Linked DNA regions of Homo sapiens: region 2 is linked to region 1. The links are contacts of gene promoters, found by promoter capture Hi-C in human tissues and cell types (Jung and others, 2019). All regions are on one chromosome and are shown on one strand. The core of a region is centred on a gene start or on the middle of the fragment in contact, and the rest is flanking DNA. Distances in the headings are between cores, read along the strand shown.

What was found. The method cuts DNA at HindIII sites, captures the fragments that hold promoters and counts their contacts. A contact is called where the count stands out against the background at its distance.
Region 2: a fragment that was not itself captured here is called in contact with the fragment with the promoter of SCN3A in region 1 in 1 of the 25 tissues and cell types used here (IMR-90 fibroblasts).

Annotation. Positions count from the first base shown.
Region 1 is chr2:165,200,137-165,206,973 of GRCh38, reverse strand. SCN3A (sodium voltage-gated channel alpha subunit 3) reads left to right here and starts at 2,924. Exons shown (of 28, transcript NM_006922.4): 1 at 2,924-3,151. The HindIII fragment of the contact is 11,221 bases long and covers 1-6,837 here.
Region 2 is chr2:164,765,649-164,772,469 of GRCh38, reverse strand. All of the region lies in intron 2 of COBLL1 (cordon-bleu WH2 repeat protein like 1), which reads left to right. Among named protein-coding and RNA genes, the nearest start is that of COBLL1, 73 kb to the left of the region's middle. The HindIII fragment of the contact is 5,065 bases long and covers 1-4,549 here.

The sequences.
Region 1 (6,837 bases), core at 1,675-4,174:
TGTTCCACATGGCTGGGGAGGCCTCACAATCATGGTGGAATGTGAAGGAAGAGCAAAGGCACATCTTACATGGTGGCAGGCAAGAGAACGTGTGCAGGGGACACGTTCCTCTTTATAAAACCATCAGCTCTCATGAGACTTATTCATTATCACTAGAACAGCATGGGCAAAACTCGCCCCCATTATTCAATTACCTCCCACCAGGTGCCCCCCATGACATGTAGGGATTATGGGAGCTACAATTCAAGATGATATCTGACAATTCAAGATGATATCTGGGTGGGGACACAGCCAAACCATATCAGGTACTAACTACGTTTTACTTCCCTCACATTTCATTGCTTCTTCACCTGTAAAGTGTGTATAATAATACCTCATATGGGTGAAGTTTAAATGAACATATGTAAAGTGCTTAGAACAATGTCTGGCACATAGTACCAATAAATGTTAGTTTTGTTATTGTTACTAATATTATTAAATGTCTTCATCATTACCTGAGGCTCTTCCCCTACCCTCCCCAATTCTGGCCAGATAGCCAAGGCTATTATTGCCTAAGTGGAATTGTCGTTGGAGATGGACAGAAGAATTGTCAAATTCTTGTGCTTTATATTTAAATTCTTGTGTTAGGGGTTGAATTGTGCCTCCTCTCAAAAAGTTCTAATTCTGAGTAATTCAGAATATGCCCTTATTTTGAAATAGGGTATTTACAGAGATAATCAGGTTAAAATTAGGTTATGAGGGCGGACCCTAAACCAAAGTGACTGGTGTCCTTATAAAGAGGAGAAAATTTGACACAGAGGCATGCACAGAGGGAGGAGTACGTAAAGACAGTGATGCAGGGAGTGCACCATGTAAAGACAGAGACAGAGACTGGAGTTATGCTGCCACAAACCAAGGAACATCTGGGGCTACTAAAAGCTAAGAGAAGCAAGAAAGTATCCTTCCCCTGCAGGTTTCAGAGGAAGCATGATCATGCTGACAACTTGATTCTGGCCTCTGAGTAGCCAGAATTGTGAAAAAAATGATTTCTGTGTCTAAGCCCCTCAGGATGGCAGTTTGTTACAGCAGCCCTAGTAAACTGATACATTAGACATAAGACAAAAAGATTTCAAGGGAAAACAAGTGGCTCCAGCTTACCTTTGGTACAGAAAGAAGAGACCCAAGCAAAAACTCTTTTGAGTCTGTGAAGGAAGTTATGAAGAAGGAAAGGAGTCTCTGATAAGGGCTCCTTACATAGTTTGCCAATCTAGGATTAGCTAAAAAGATGAAAAGATGAGAAGTTTCCATCTATTTACACTATTCTAGTGTGGCAGAGATTGTGCCTCGCTTGCCTGAAGCCTGCAGAGTGCATTACATCCCATGGTTTACAAACAGCAGAACAGAGATGGCTGTGTGAGGCGCCTGGGGCAGGGAGGAAGGCTTAAGTCAGCCAATTACAGCCAAGAGTGACCCTGGGAACATGCTGCTTTTTCTTCTCTCCTCCTAAAGGACAGGAACAAAAGTTTCCTTAGAGGAAGAAGTGACAAAGAGGGGATGCTGCCATGCAAAGCTGGAGGGATGCTATTCCCGGGGCCCAGTGGGCCTGTGGGTACGTTAGTAGATATGAGGGATAATGATGGTCATGGATCATGCAGGACTCCTGGCCTCAGTGGATGCCCATGTGGAGAAAGGGGGAACGGGATCATACTCTGCTTTCTCTATATATGTACACAATCCTGAACTTAGATCAGTCTCCATGAGAAGGAGAGATAGAAGAGGAAAATCATGTATTGGTTGAATGCAAACCCAAAATCATTGGGAAAAGCCTCAAGTAATTTAGTTTACCTGGAACTGACTAGATTTATTTTTCTGCCATTAGACAAAATGGGGGCCACAATTGAAAACGAAGTATGTAATTAACAGTTCTTGAACACATGGCTGGGAAATATGGTATCAGCTATATTTGTTTTTCTTCTTTGTATGAGCTCCTTTATGGCAGGCACTGTGTGTTTCTCTCTGTGTCTTTTCAAGTCTAATATAATACTTGACATCATTTTTGTCCATCCATACAGTTGGTTTGTCAATATGAATGTATTTATTTAATTGATGATAAACTGTAATAAAATCATAGTTGTTTGCTCTAAAGTAGATATGAAAGGTCAGATGAAACAATAACATACATCTGGATTGAGAAATATCTTAATAACTGATGGATTATTTTTATTTTCTTTATGTATTGTGTGCTTCAATATCCTAATAAATAATATTAGCTAGGTTCACTGATGTATAGAATCTTTTTCTACATTTAGATATTTCTTGCAAATGTTTTACCAGAAAGCAACACAAAAATACTATCAGTGAGTATGTGTTTACACTGTTCTCTAAGGAGTCAAATTCCTCACCTTGAAAATAATTCATCCCAGGAAGAGAAAAGGTTTTCAAAAGACTAGAGCAGGCCACAAGGGAGCTTTCGCAAAACTCTACACGTAAAGGGTAATGTAAACTTAAAACCTATTTTTCAAACAGTAATTTATATATCTTTTAATTTTAGTAGTTTATGTGTGAAACAATCATGCAAAACAACAAAGTGATAAAATTTTTTAAAAAAATTAGTGAGATGCAAATAACTGAATATGTAAAAGGTCTCATACATATTTATATGTAGTAGATAAGTTACATTTTTTTAGTGTGTTGGGAAATTTTAGCTCACATCACCTCTCTACTGTCATCTTGGGGCACTTTCATGACTACCCATGCTTCATGCAGGTTTACTTTCCTCCCTGTGACAGAGGATAATGGGAATGTTTTTTCTTTGGCTCAATTTTGTGTGTGTCCGCCAGTAGATGGCGGTACCACTTTGAGTGCGATCGGCCTTTTTTTCTTTCTTTTTTTTTTTCCTCAAAGCTGTTTTCTGATATATGTTGGGTACCATAGAGTGAATCTCAGAACAGGAAGCGGAGGCATAAGCAGAGAGGATTCTGGAAAGGTCTCTTTGTTTTCTTATCCACAGAGAAAGAAAGAAAAAAAATTGTAACTAATTTGTAAACCTCTGTGGTCAAAAAAAAAAAAAAAAAAAAAAGCTGAACAGCTGCAGAGGAAGACACGTTATACCCTAACCATCTTGGATGCTGGGCTTTGTTATGCTGTAATTCATAAGGCTCTGTTTTATCAGGTAAGCTGACAAAACATTTCATTATCTGCACCATAGAACCTAGCTACCAGGTCATTTTCCTTACTTTAAAATCATCTTCATGCTGCTATTTTTAACCCAGTGTTGTTTAAATGTAAATTACAGGAACCAAAGGCATCGTTTGATGTGTAAACTGCTTACTATTTCTTTATCTTTCAAAGAAAATAGAGCCTGTCTGGAAATGGTGATTTATGGTACATACTAGGCATCAATGGTCTTGTGTTTTTGTAGATGCTTATGATTAATTGTATTCAGAAAAAATATTTTTTATTATACTTAAAGCTAGTCTAATGAGTTTCCTGGCTGTATGTCATCTATTTAAATGCCCAGTGTGTCCAGTATTTTTTAAACATAAATGTATAGTGAAATTGGAACTATCATTCTTGTGCTTTAGTTTTTTATTTAACAGCTTTAGAGAGGCCATGCATATAGGGAGTGATAACAATATAGAGGTGTTTGGCTTTGTGAAATACACTATCATTTTTCTCTAAAATCTGTTTTCATAGAGAAAAGAACACCAATACTAACCATTTAAAAGAGGTTGAACCTTCAAAAAATAAAATAATCTCTATATGTTCCATAATATGCTACTTCTTTATCCTTTAATATATTCATTTTATATTAAATGTTTACCTTTTAATTTATTGATTTAAAGATTATTATATATTCTTAATTGTTCTATAAGCTTGATAGATTGCTGTTTTTCTGTATATATTTAATAACTGTTTATTTTTATTAATTACCAGGAAGAACCACTGGAGCCATAAAACAATAATTTACTTTATCTATGATCCATATTGTCTGTAGTTGTATTTAGAATATTCTATATCATAACCATAAATGTTTCATTCAGTTAGCCACCACATAATTAGAATAAGAAATTATTGACAGAAAATCTATACATATTAATTGAAAGATAAGTTTTAAAAATCATACAGGGTTTTAAAATACACAACAGGTAGTATAATGTGGCTTATGAGGACAAAGATAAAGGCATAAGTGCTTGTAGGAATTTGCATGGAAACATTTCATCACATTCACTCCAAATAGAGTGTGCCCTATATGAAATGAAGACTTCTGATTTCAACAGGGCTTCCAGTCAGTACTGGCTAAAAGGGCTTCAAAAATAGAACTTAAGGCCTCCAAACTGTAATTCCTAATGATATGTTGAAAAATATTGACATCTCACTTAATATTTTACATTGAGTAGCAATAATAGTCCCCCCAAAAACATTTCAAAATAGTGGTTGCCTGAGAGGAGAGCCCTGGGTCTTGTCTATTTCAGAAGAATTCCTACCATAGGAGATAAAGAAAACTATTTCTTTGGACAGGGTTCCCAGAAATGGCTGTTAATTAACTTGAGTGTATTGTACACACCATGCTTCTCTACAGGTGACTAAATGTGAGTAACTTTGTTCTGAGTAAGCATCAGAGCTGGTCTTGATTGAACTGGTTTACATTTATGAATGAATGCTTAATTTTGGCCCCAAATGTTAGCTTTTATTTTTCTTGGTATAGTTGCAACAGTCTCTTAGTTATTCATCTATACATGTGGTCGCCATGTGAAAAAGCAAATACACTCAGAGTTCTTCACTTCACAAAATGCGCTCTTTCAAAAATTTCGGAAATTAAACCTGCTTTGATTAAATGATATATCAAACACATTTGAATAACTTACTCTTTAAAAGAATGTAGTGGTGATTTCATTTGTAAAGTTGAGAAAAATGCTGTGATTTATTTGAGTACTGAAGATAAAAAGGTTGAACCCTGAGCTGAAAGTCTTGGGATCTGGTTCATGTTCTGCTACTAGTGAGTTTTGTTGTCTCAGAAAAGACCCCAAGTATCACTGAAGAGCATTTTCCTTGCCTACAAAGGAAGGAAATTAGAATCAAAGCTGTATAAGAATACTTTGTTTTTAAAATTTTCTGATCCTCATTTATTTGGATTTTTCTTCAGTTGGTTTCTCAGCTTAATTAAGATACAACTTTGACTCTCACTGAGTTGTAAATTATGATTGATGTGCTAAACATGAAAGTGGTAAAATAGAGAAATAGGGGCGTTTCTTGGCCAGTTCCTTCTGTAGTGGAAACAAGCAGGAAACAACATGGAGAAGTGGTTAAGAGCAAGAGCTTGGCAGGTTACATTTTATGGCCACTATTACCTGACAAGTTATTTAAACTCTCTGAGCCTTTATTACATCATCTTTAAAATAGGAATAATAATGCCTGTGTTACAGGATTGTGTAACTAAAATAATGTCTGTTCAGTGCTTGGTATAGATCCTGGAACATGATTACGAACCTCCTTCCTCTCTCTCCCTGCCATCCTAACTCACATCAAAAGGAACAGGACAAACATAAAGGCATAAATTTTCATCATTGTTATTATTGTTATCGTTAGTGCTGGTGATATAATATCTTCCACCACAACAGGAAGGATAGAATAAAACTGCCAAATAATTATGTACCTGAAAAGTGAATAATTCTCATCCTGGAAGGATGCCCTTGCTGAAACAACAACAATTGTGTACCTATAATAGTATCACTTAGTGTTAACATTCCAGGCAATTCCTGGAGAGTTTATAGAACTCATAATGCCTTCCAGAAGACAGTTATTTATGCCCAATATGTTATCACGGACTTCAAAACTTTCTTCTTCTTATGAAAATAGAGGCAAAGGGCCTTATTTCACGTTGCCTTAAGAGGATATACCTGTTAGACGAAGTTTCTGTAAAGATTCACAAAGGGAATCTAGGTTTCACCAAAACCACATTTAAACGCCAAGTAATTTCTACTAAGACCACCAGATAACTGAACCTAAATCTCAGGAAAGTCTTTGCTATGTGATCAACTCACAAACTCTCTAATGCTTCAATTCTATTAACGGTACAATAAGATGTGGAAAGGCAAATTGTGCTTGATGAATGGTTGATGGACTGCAAAATCCCTGCTTTCCTCCAAAGGTTGTTTCTAAGTGTAGCTTCGTGCTCCTGACAGCTGTGTGCTACTGGGGTCTTTGGGAGCTAGAACTTGGATGACCTTTCAGCACCCCAGGCCTCCTAATCCTTCCCTTCAACCACCCTAGGCCTCTTTAAACTGACTCAAGTAACTGCGCTGTCAGCTTCATCTTCATGGCAGCCAAGATGACTTAATGGACTCTTGATTAGGCAGATCTGAGAGGGCTAAGAGCTTGGGAGGCTTAAAAATATGAGGGTAGTGTTTCTCAACTAGACAAATGCGGTGCTTGGAATTTGTTGCTCATCTGTCTCTCAGTTCTAGGTCACTCCCAGCTCTTACGAGTTCTTATCTTTAGGGTTGATGATAACTAAAAGCATCCATAAGAATAAGCATTTAAAGATTTTTTTTCACCAAGAAATTAACACTTGATTATATAGTGATATTTCTTTACATAGGTAGCTGTGAAGATTACTTTTTTCTGATTTTCATTTATGTATAGAAACATGAACTCACTGAAGGTTGGGAATTCATGTTTCATTTGTCACCTAAAAATATATTATTCATTCGCACCTTAATATTAATGGTTGTTTTACCAGTTTTCCAAAACTGTGAGGATTAATTACCCACCTACCAGTGAAATATAATTACTTAACTCTATTTCTGTACTTTTAGGTTCGTTTTAAATTTTCGATTAATTTTAATTCTAACTGCT
Region 2 (6,821 bases), core at 768-3,267, 430 kb after region 1:
TAAAAATCTACTTGCTATTATCAGATGTATCTAAAATGTGAAAAATAGTCAATAGAATCATTGACTGTATATTTTTTAAACAAGGGCTGTGTTTCTAAATACCTGGTAGAAATCTAACTTATATAATTCAAATGTAAATTTCCTATAAAAATAAATACATGAGATTTACATTTTCCAAATTTTGCTGATAAAGAAACTTTATCACATTTAAGGTTGACATAAACCAGAACAGCACAAACTGCAATCTTGCCATGTTTTATTTTAAAAATAAAAAAGATAGTATCAAATTACTATCTGTCACTGGTTTATTGCTGCTAACCACACACTGTGAGGATTAACAACTAAACAAATCCCCTTATTCATGTAGGGCATGAGGTTAGATGATCGAGACTATAAATAAGCAAACTTAATGATGTCATTAATAAGGAAGAGGAGAAGGTACCTCTTGGTGTCTTGTTTACTCCCACTATGCATACGTTCTTTAGAAAGCAAATTACTGAACCATATGGAAAAGGAAAAAGCTAAGGTGAGTAATAGAATTGTTTAACACAGACTCATTATACATTCAATATTGAGTATAATTATATTCCATTTTCATGTTTGAAATAATTATGCATTAATCTTTAGAACTGGATGACTTTTCTGTAGATTTTTGAAGTTACATAGCTATAACTTGGAATGTTTAGATGCCTTCTTATCACAATTTATTCTTGTCAAAGGAAAGTAGATAGTAATTTACAAAGACACATGCAGTAGTTGGCATATAAACCATATATGTGGTGATGTACAATTAGAAACTCGTGCTTTCTAAACCTGTCTCCATCTATTCAGAACAGTGTGCCTTGTACTGACCCATTTTTGTTTTTTAACTTTAGCCTGTTGTCAATTATGTCATGAAACTCCCAAGTCATATGGACAAGCCCATTTATAATTCTAGTTGAGGTCACTTGTTAAAAGTTTTCATGTTTTGCAAAATGTACTTAAGTTTGAGTTTATGTTTTGTCTAATAGGGGTACTCTAATCATGCTGTAGTGCCTGAACTGAAACACAGTACACAATTTTTTTTTTCTAATGAGAAACTCTAGAAGACAGTGATACCCTGTTGTTTAAACAACAACATATTTGGATGGAATATCAAATTGATTACGTGTTACATGTGTGTTTTTTGTTTTGTTTAAAATTACTAAAGATGATTTTCAAAGTGTCATACTGTTGATGTAAAAAACTTAGGTTGTTGGTCAACGTCATCTGTGGTTTCTTAAAGTGCACATAAATTATAGGTATCTCATTAAATTCATAAATATAAACAATGATCTCTCAGTGACATAGAATTAGTTTTGCTTTTGAGATAAAATTTTTATATTTTCTAGCTTTTTATAAGAAAAGTGGTAGAAGGCAATTAAGAAAATATTGTAAGAGTAACATAAGTGGTGCTTATGAAATTGAGGACAATATATAGAACATAATGATCTTTATGCGAGATCAGTACAATAAAAATATCTTATTTTTATTTTAGGATCAAAAAGTAAATGTGTAAATTAGGATTTTAGCTCCTGTATCTTGACATTTATAATAACTGGACCACACCTATAATACCAGAATTCTTGTGCTATAAAAGTTGTTTTAATGGCTTTGATATCCAAAGGCTATTTTTGAACAAAGTCTTTGCTAAGACATTGCTAAGTACTGACCACCACCATTACTTGGCGTGTTATATATGCCTTTGTTTCTAGGTCCACCTATTTCCTCAGGGAAAGTTTGTATAAATGAGACTACTGTATATTTCTTTGTCATTTCCTCTTCTTGTTTCTGGGAGGAAGAATTGCAATGGATTTTACGGTGTTTATACATTAAATCAGATACCTTTCTATGGTACTGAATGTGATGGTAGTTGGGCGGGCCAGGAATAGTATTTTTGTTTGTTTAAACTAGGCAGATGAAAACATTGTTTACTTTTCAGAATATGGGTATTTTTCCTTTGTTTCAAAAGATTTAATATAGTTTTACAGCTCGTGAAGGCATGATTATAATGAATTAGTCTTTAGTATGCATATAGCTAATGGTTTTCTTTTGATAAGTTAGTGTTTCTTTTAGTAGATGTCATTTCAGAAGACATATCTATTAGATAGGTTCACATAATGTATTGTGTGTTTTTTTTTTCTTTTTGTTTCCATCTGGCACTCTAAATAGAATTTTAAGATCTTAGATTGGTGTTTCAGTGGTGCTGGGCACACAGATACGGCATACAGTAACAGAATGGCATAGGAGAAAGAAATGGGTTTTGAAATGAACTTCTCTGGGTTTTAAACCTAGGGCTGCAGTTTACTAACTGAGGACGAGTTAACTCCCTTCTCAGGAATTTATGCTTTGTCCTGTAAATTACAAAACAACAACTCACAGTGTTGTGGTAATAATTAGTTTAATTCATATATAATCTCCTGCACATTGTACCTTAGTAAATTCCATTATTTATGTTTTTATGGGTGCTTCAAAAGTGCTCATTTCTTGACCAAAGACACCTAAAGAGAAAGGGAGAACAAGGTAACATTTGAGACTTTTTATGTGTAGTTGATTAATATTGTAAAATAATAAACTGTTGGTTCTTTGAATACAGGAATTGTACTTATTTCTTTACCCAAAGCCAGCGTAGGTGCTTAATAAATGCTTGCTCTGGGGGGGGTATATGTGGCAAAACTCGAGTTTCTTCCCTTCCTGGTTTAGAGTTATTTCCCATGCATTGCTTCTTTTAACTCTGTGCAATTACTCTTTTTAAAATTGAGACAGGATCTAACTATGTTGCCCAGGCTGGTCTCGAACTCCTGAGCTCAAGTGATCTGTCTCCCTTGGCCACCCAAAGTGCTGGGGTTACAGGCGTGAGCCACCGCATCCATCCCAATTACTCCTAAATGAGCTCATTTTAATTAATCTGTAATTTGGCCTTTTACACAAACAGGAATATAAAATATATTCTTATTTACTGATGACTGGGGATAATATATATAAAATGATGTATTTGGTAGAGTTGCCAAACCACCAGTCTGAAGGTAAAAGGCAAATGTCTCTACAATAGATGGGAAGAAGAAAATGATTTTCATGGAATATAGATGTTTAGCAACCCTACAGCTTGGTTATTTTTATACATTGCTAGAAGACAGCCTGATTGTTGAATGGCTGAGGATAATTTATTCTTTGTGCAGGTTCTTGTTTTCTATGAATCAGGGTCAAATGCTGAAAGGAACTGTTATTTCACACTAAATACATTAAAAATTCTAACCCCGCATGCTTTTAAGAAACGAGATTTTTTTTTCAAAATTAGGAAAATGTTTGAACACATGGTAGAGTATGTGTGTATCTGAAAGAGAAATCATTCAACCATGTTTTATTGAGCATCTTCTTTGTTCCAATAAATATTCTAGATGCTTCAAGACACAGCATTAAACCAGAGAGTTAAGGTGCCTGGACTCAGTCAGCTTCCATTCGCTAATATGAACTTGCTAATCTGAATTAATCACTAAGAATTGTGAACATTTACAATAAGCCATTTGCATATTGTTGCTTGTATGGAAACATTTAGTGTGTAAACAGATTTCTTTGCTTAGTGTGCCATCGTGTGCTTGCAATACAAATATACCTAAAAATAGTTAAGGAAATAGGAAGGCCAGTGCTTTCACGGAGATTTTTAGAAATGTCGTTTGTCAATACATATTACTTATCTTTAAATTTAATTGTGATTTTTCAATTCTGATGACACTAATAAGATTTACAGTAGATTTTTAAAATTTCTTTTTATCAAGTGATTTACTAAGGGATATATGATAGGAGGCATTTAACTAATAGACATAAGATGGTTCTGGATCATTTCTTCCCCAGATAAGAGGGATTATTTCTATAGATGAATAAAAATGGTTTCTGGAAAGCTATGCTTCTGTATTTATATCTTAATTCAAAGGTGTCCAATCTTTTGGCTTTCGTGGGCCACATTGGAAGAAAAAGAATTGTCTTGGGCCACACATAAAATATACTAACAGTAGCTGATATGCTAAAAAAAAAAAATCTCATAATGTTTTAAGAAAGTTTACGAATTTGTGTTGGGCCACATTCAAAACCATCCTGGGCTGCATGTGGCCTGCAGGCCACAGGTTGGACAAGCTTGGCTTAGATTATTATTTTATTGAGAGAATCATTTGTATTATTTCTGGTGCATGTGATCTATCCACAGTATTCTCATTTTCTACTGCCTTTCTTACAAATTGTGTAATAAATTAAGGAGTAGCAGGTGGTTGCTTTTGCTTGGCCTGCACTTGTTTGGACAAACTAAAAAAAAATCAAGTTTCAGGTCATGATTTCTTAAAGGTTTGTCAGTGTATGGATCACAGTTCTCCAGCAATCCTGCATCTAGTGACCTGTAGAAGTTCTTAAACTTCAGTCAACAGACTTGTTCAGATAAGATTTCCAGTCCCTCAGTAATACATGCTGAAAGTCTGTTCTTTGCACCGTTTGGGGCTAGGACCAGTAGGGTAATTTCTAGTTCACCTTCTCATGCCAGTTATATTTCTTCAAAATTTTGTTTTACTATTACTTAACCTGTTAAGGCCTGTTTTTACAATTGCTTATTTTAATAATGTAATTTAAAAAATATTATATACATACAATGTAAAAACAGGAAGAGCTGTTTTCATAAAAGCAAAATTAAGTACTTAAGAAATAATCTTTGGTGAGCTACCTACCCTAACCAAAAAATTATGCTATTAAATTATAATTGAATGGGACACTAAAATAATGAAATAAAAATATGAAATAAATGAATTTACATGTAAATTATTTTGCAGATGTGTTGAAATGTTTGATCTACGTAGAAAAGGAGAACATCAAAGGCAAGCCTTTGTATGCTATGTGTGCAAGAAGGACAGGATGAAAATCCCATCAGTGGGTACATTTAAAAAATAAAGCTTTCACTCTACATCAAAGAGCAGTGAATGAATTTACATCTGTGCATCTTAAGTTAGAATGTTTGAGGTTATATGAACTTTTGATTTCCCACTTTACCTGACCTTTTTATAACCTGCTGACTAGAAATATTAGAGAATTTTGTTATATTTGCCTCCTTTTTTGATAATTTTTCTAAATCATTAATCCTAAACTATTTTCCATAAGATAATGGTAGTGTCTCTTCTAACTATATGTTTTAAAACTCTAGTGATTTTTCCAAAAAATGAACTTATTTAAATATGTGAGAAAAAAATTAAAAAGCATTCATGCAGTTTTGTGTTTGAATTTAAAAGTACACGTTTGAACTGCCCATTGTTGCATAAGCGACACTTGGAGTAGAATTCCATCCCTCTCTGTGTTTCCGTAGTGAAACCAGTACATAAGTTAAACACAGTTATGCTGTCTGCATTGTACCCACTACATCTTTCTTTATTAGACATGTTAGTTTATTCATTATCCTTATGATATACTGAACATTTATACCAAACCATTGATCTGTAATTGAAGGAAGAATGGCTCAATGGAAAAGTAGAGGCTTGTGGTTATTATACTGTTTTAATCATAATCAAAATATTTCTTGGATAATTAATTTTATGTCCAAGGCTGTGTTTTGTGTAATATAGGTGTGGCTTATGGTTCTTGAATATCTGTTGGTCTTTCACGAGTAAATTATAATTTTAAATGCCAGTGGCTTTAAACTATTTCCATGTGCATGGAGGAAAGCAGGAGTAGTCAGAGAGTACTAGGAACATGCTATATATCTATGCTGTGAAGTCTTAAGAATGACATACTGTATTAGTTCGTTCTCGCACTGCTATAAAGAAATACCTGAGACTGGGTAATTTATAAAGAAAAGAGGTTTAATTGGCTCATGGTTCTGTAGGCTGTAGAGGAAGCATGATTCTGGCATCTGCTCAGATTCTAGGGAAGCCTCAGGAAACTTATAATCATGGCAGAAGGCAAGGGGGAGCCAGCACTTCACATTGCTGGAGCAGGAGGAAGAGCAAAAGGGAAGAGGTGCCACACACTTTTAAATGACCAGATTTCACAAGAACTCACTATTGCAAGAATGGCACTAAGGGGAAATCCACCCCCATGATTCAGTCACCTCCCATCTGGCTCCATCTCCAACATTGGGGATTACAAATTCAACATGAGATTGGAACGGGGACAGGGAACCAAACCATATCACATACAAAAAAGGGTATATGCAAAGATTTGTATGTGAGTGTTCATAGCAGCATTATTCATAATAGCCAAATAGTGGAAGCAACTCAAACATACATTAATTGGTGAATGGGTAAATAAAATGTCTATTCATGCAATGGCATTCTATTAGGGAATAAAAAGTAACTAAGTATGGATATATGCTACAACACGGGTGAACCTCAAGAGCTGCTTCAGTGGAAGAAGCCATTCAGGAGAACACATATTGCATGATTCCTTTTACAGGAAATCTCCAAAAAAAGCAAATATAGAGAGACAGAAAACACTGTAATGGGTGCCTGAGGCTGGAGGTTGGTTAGGGTTAGAGCAGAGATATTAGAAAGAAAAAAATTATGATCTTGGCTTATTTAAAGCACAAATAAGAAATATTAGAATGAAAAGAACTTCAGAGATCTTCCAGATAGCCCTTCATTTTACAGATGAAAAGGCAAAAGCGACCTTCATTTAGGAGGTCAATATTCCTAAATGTATTTTTGATTAGCTTTAGTAATTTCTTTTGTTTCTGTGTGTTTCAATTATTGTTTTGTTCATATATACCATAGAGCATAAGATTTTTTTTTGTAAAAACATTAGTAATTTTCAAACACAAAAGGTGAGAGTATTCA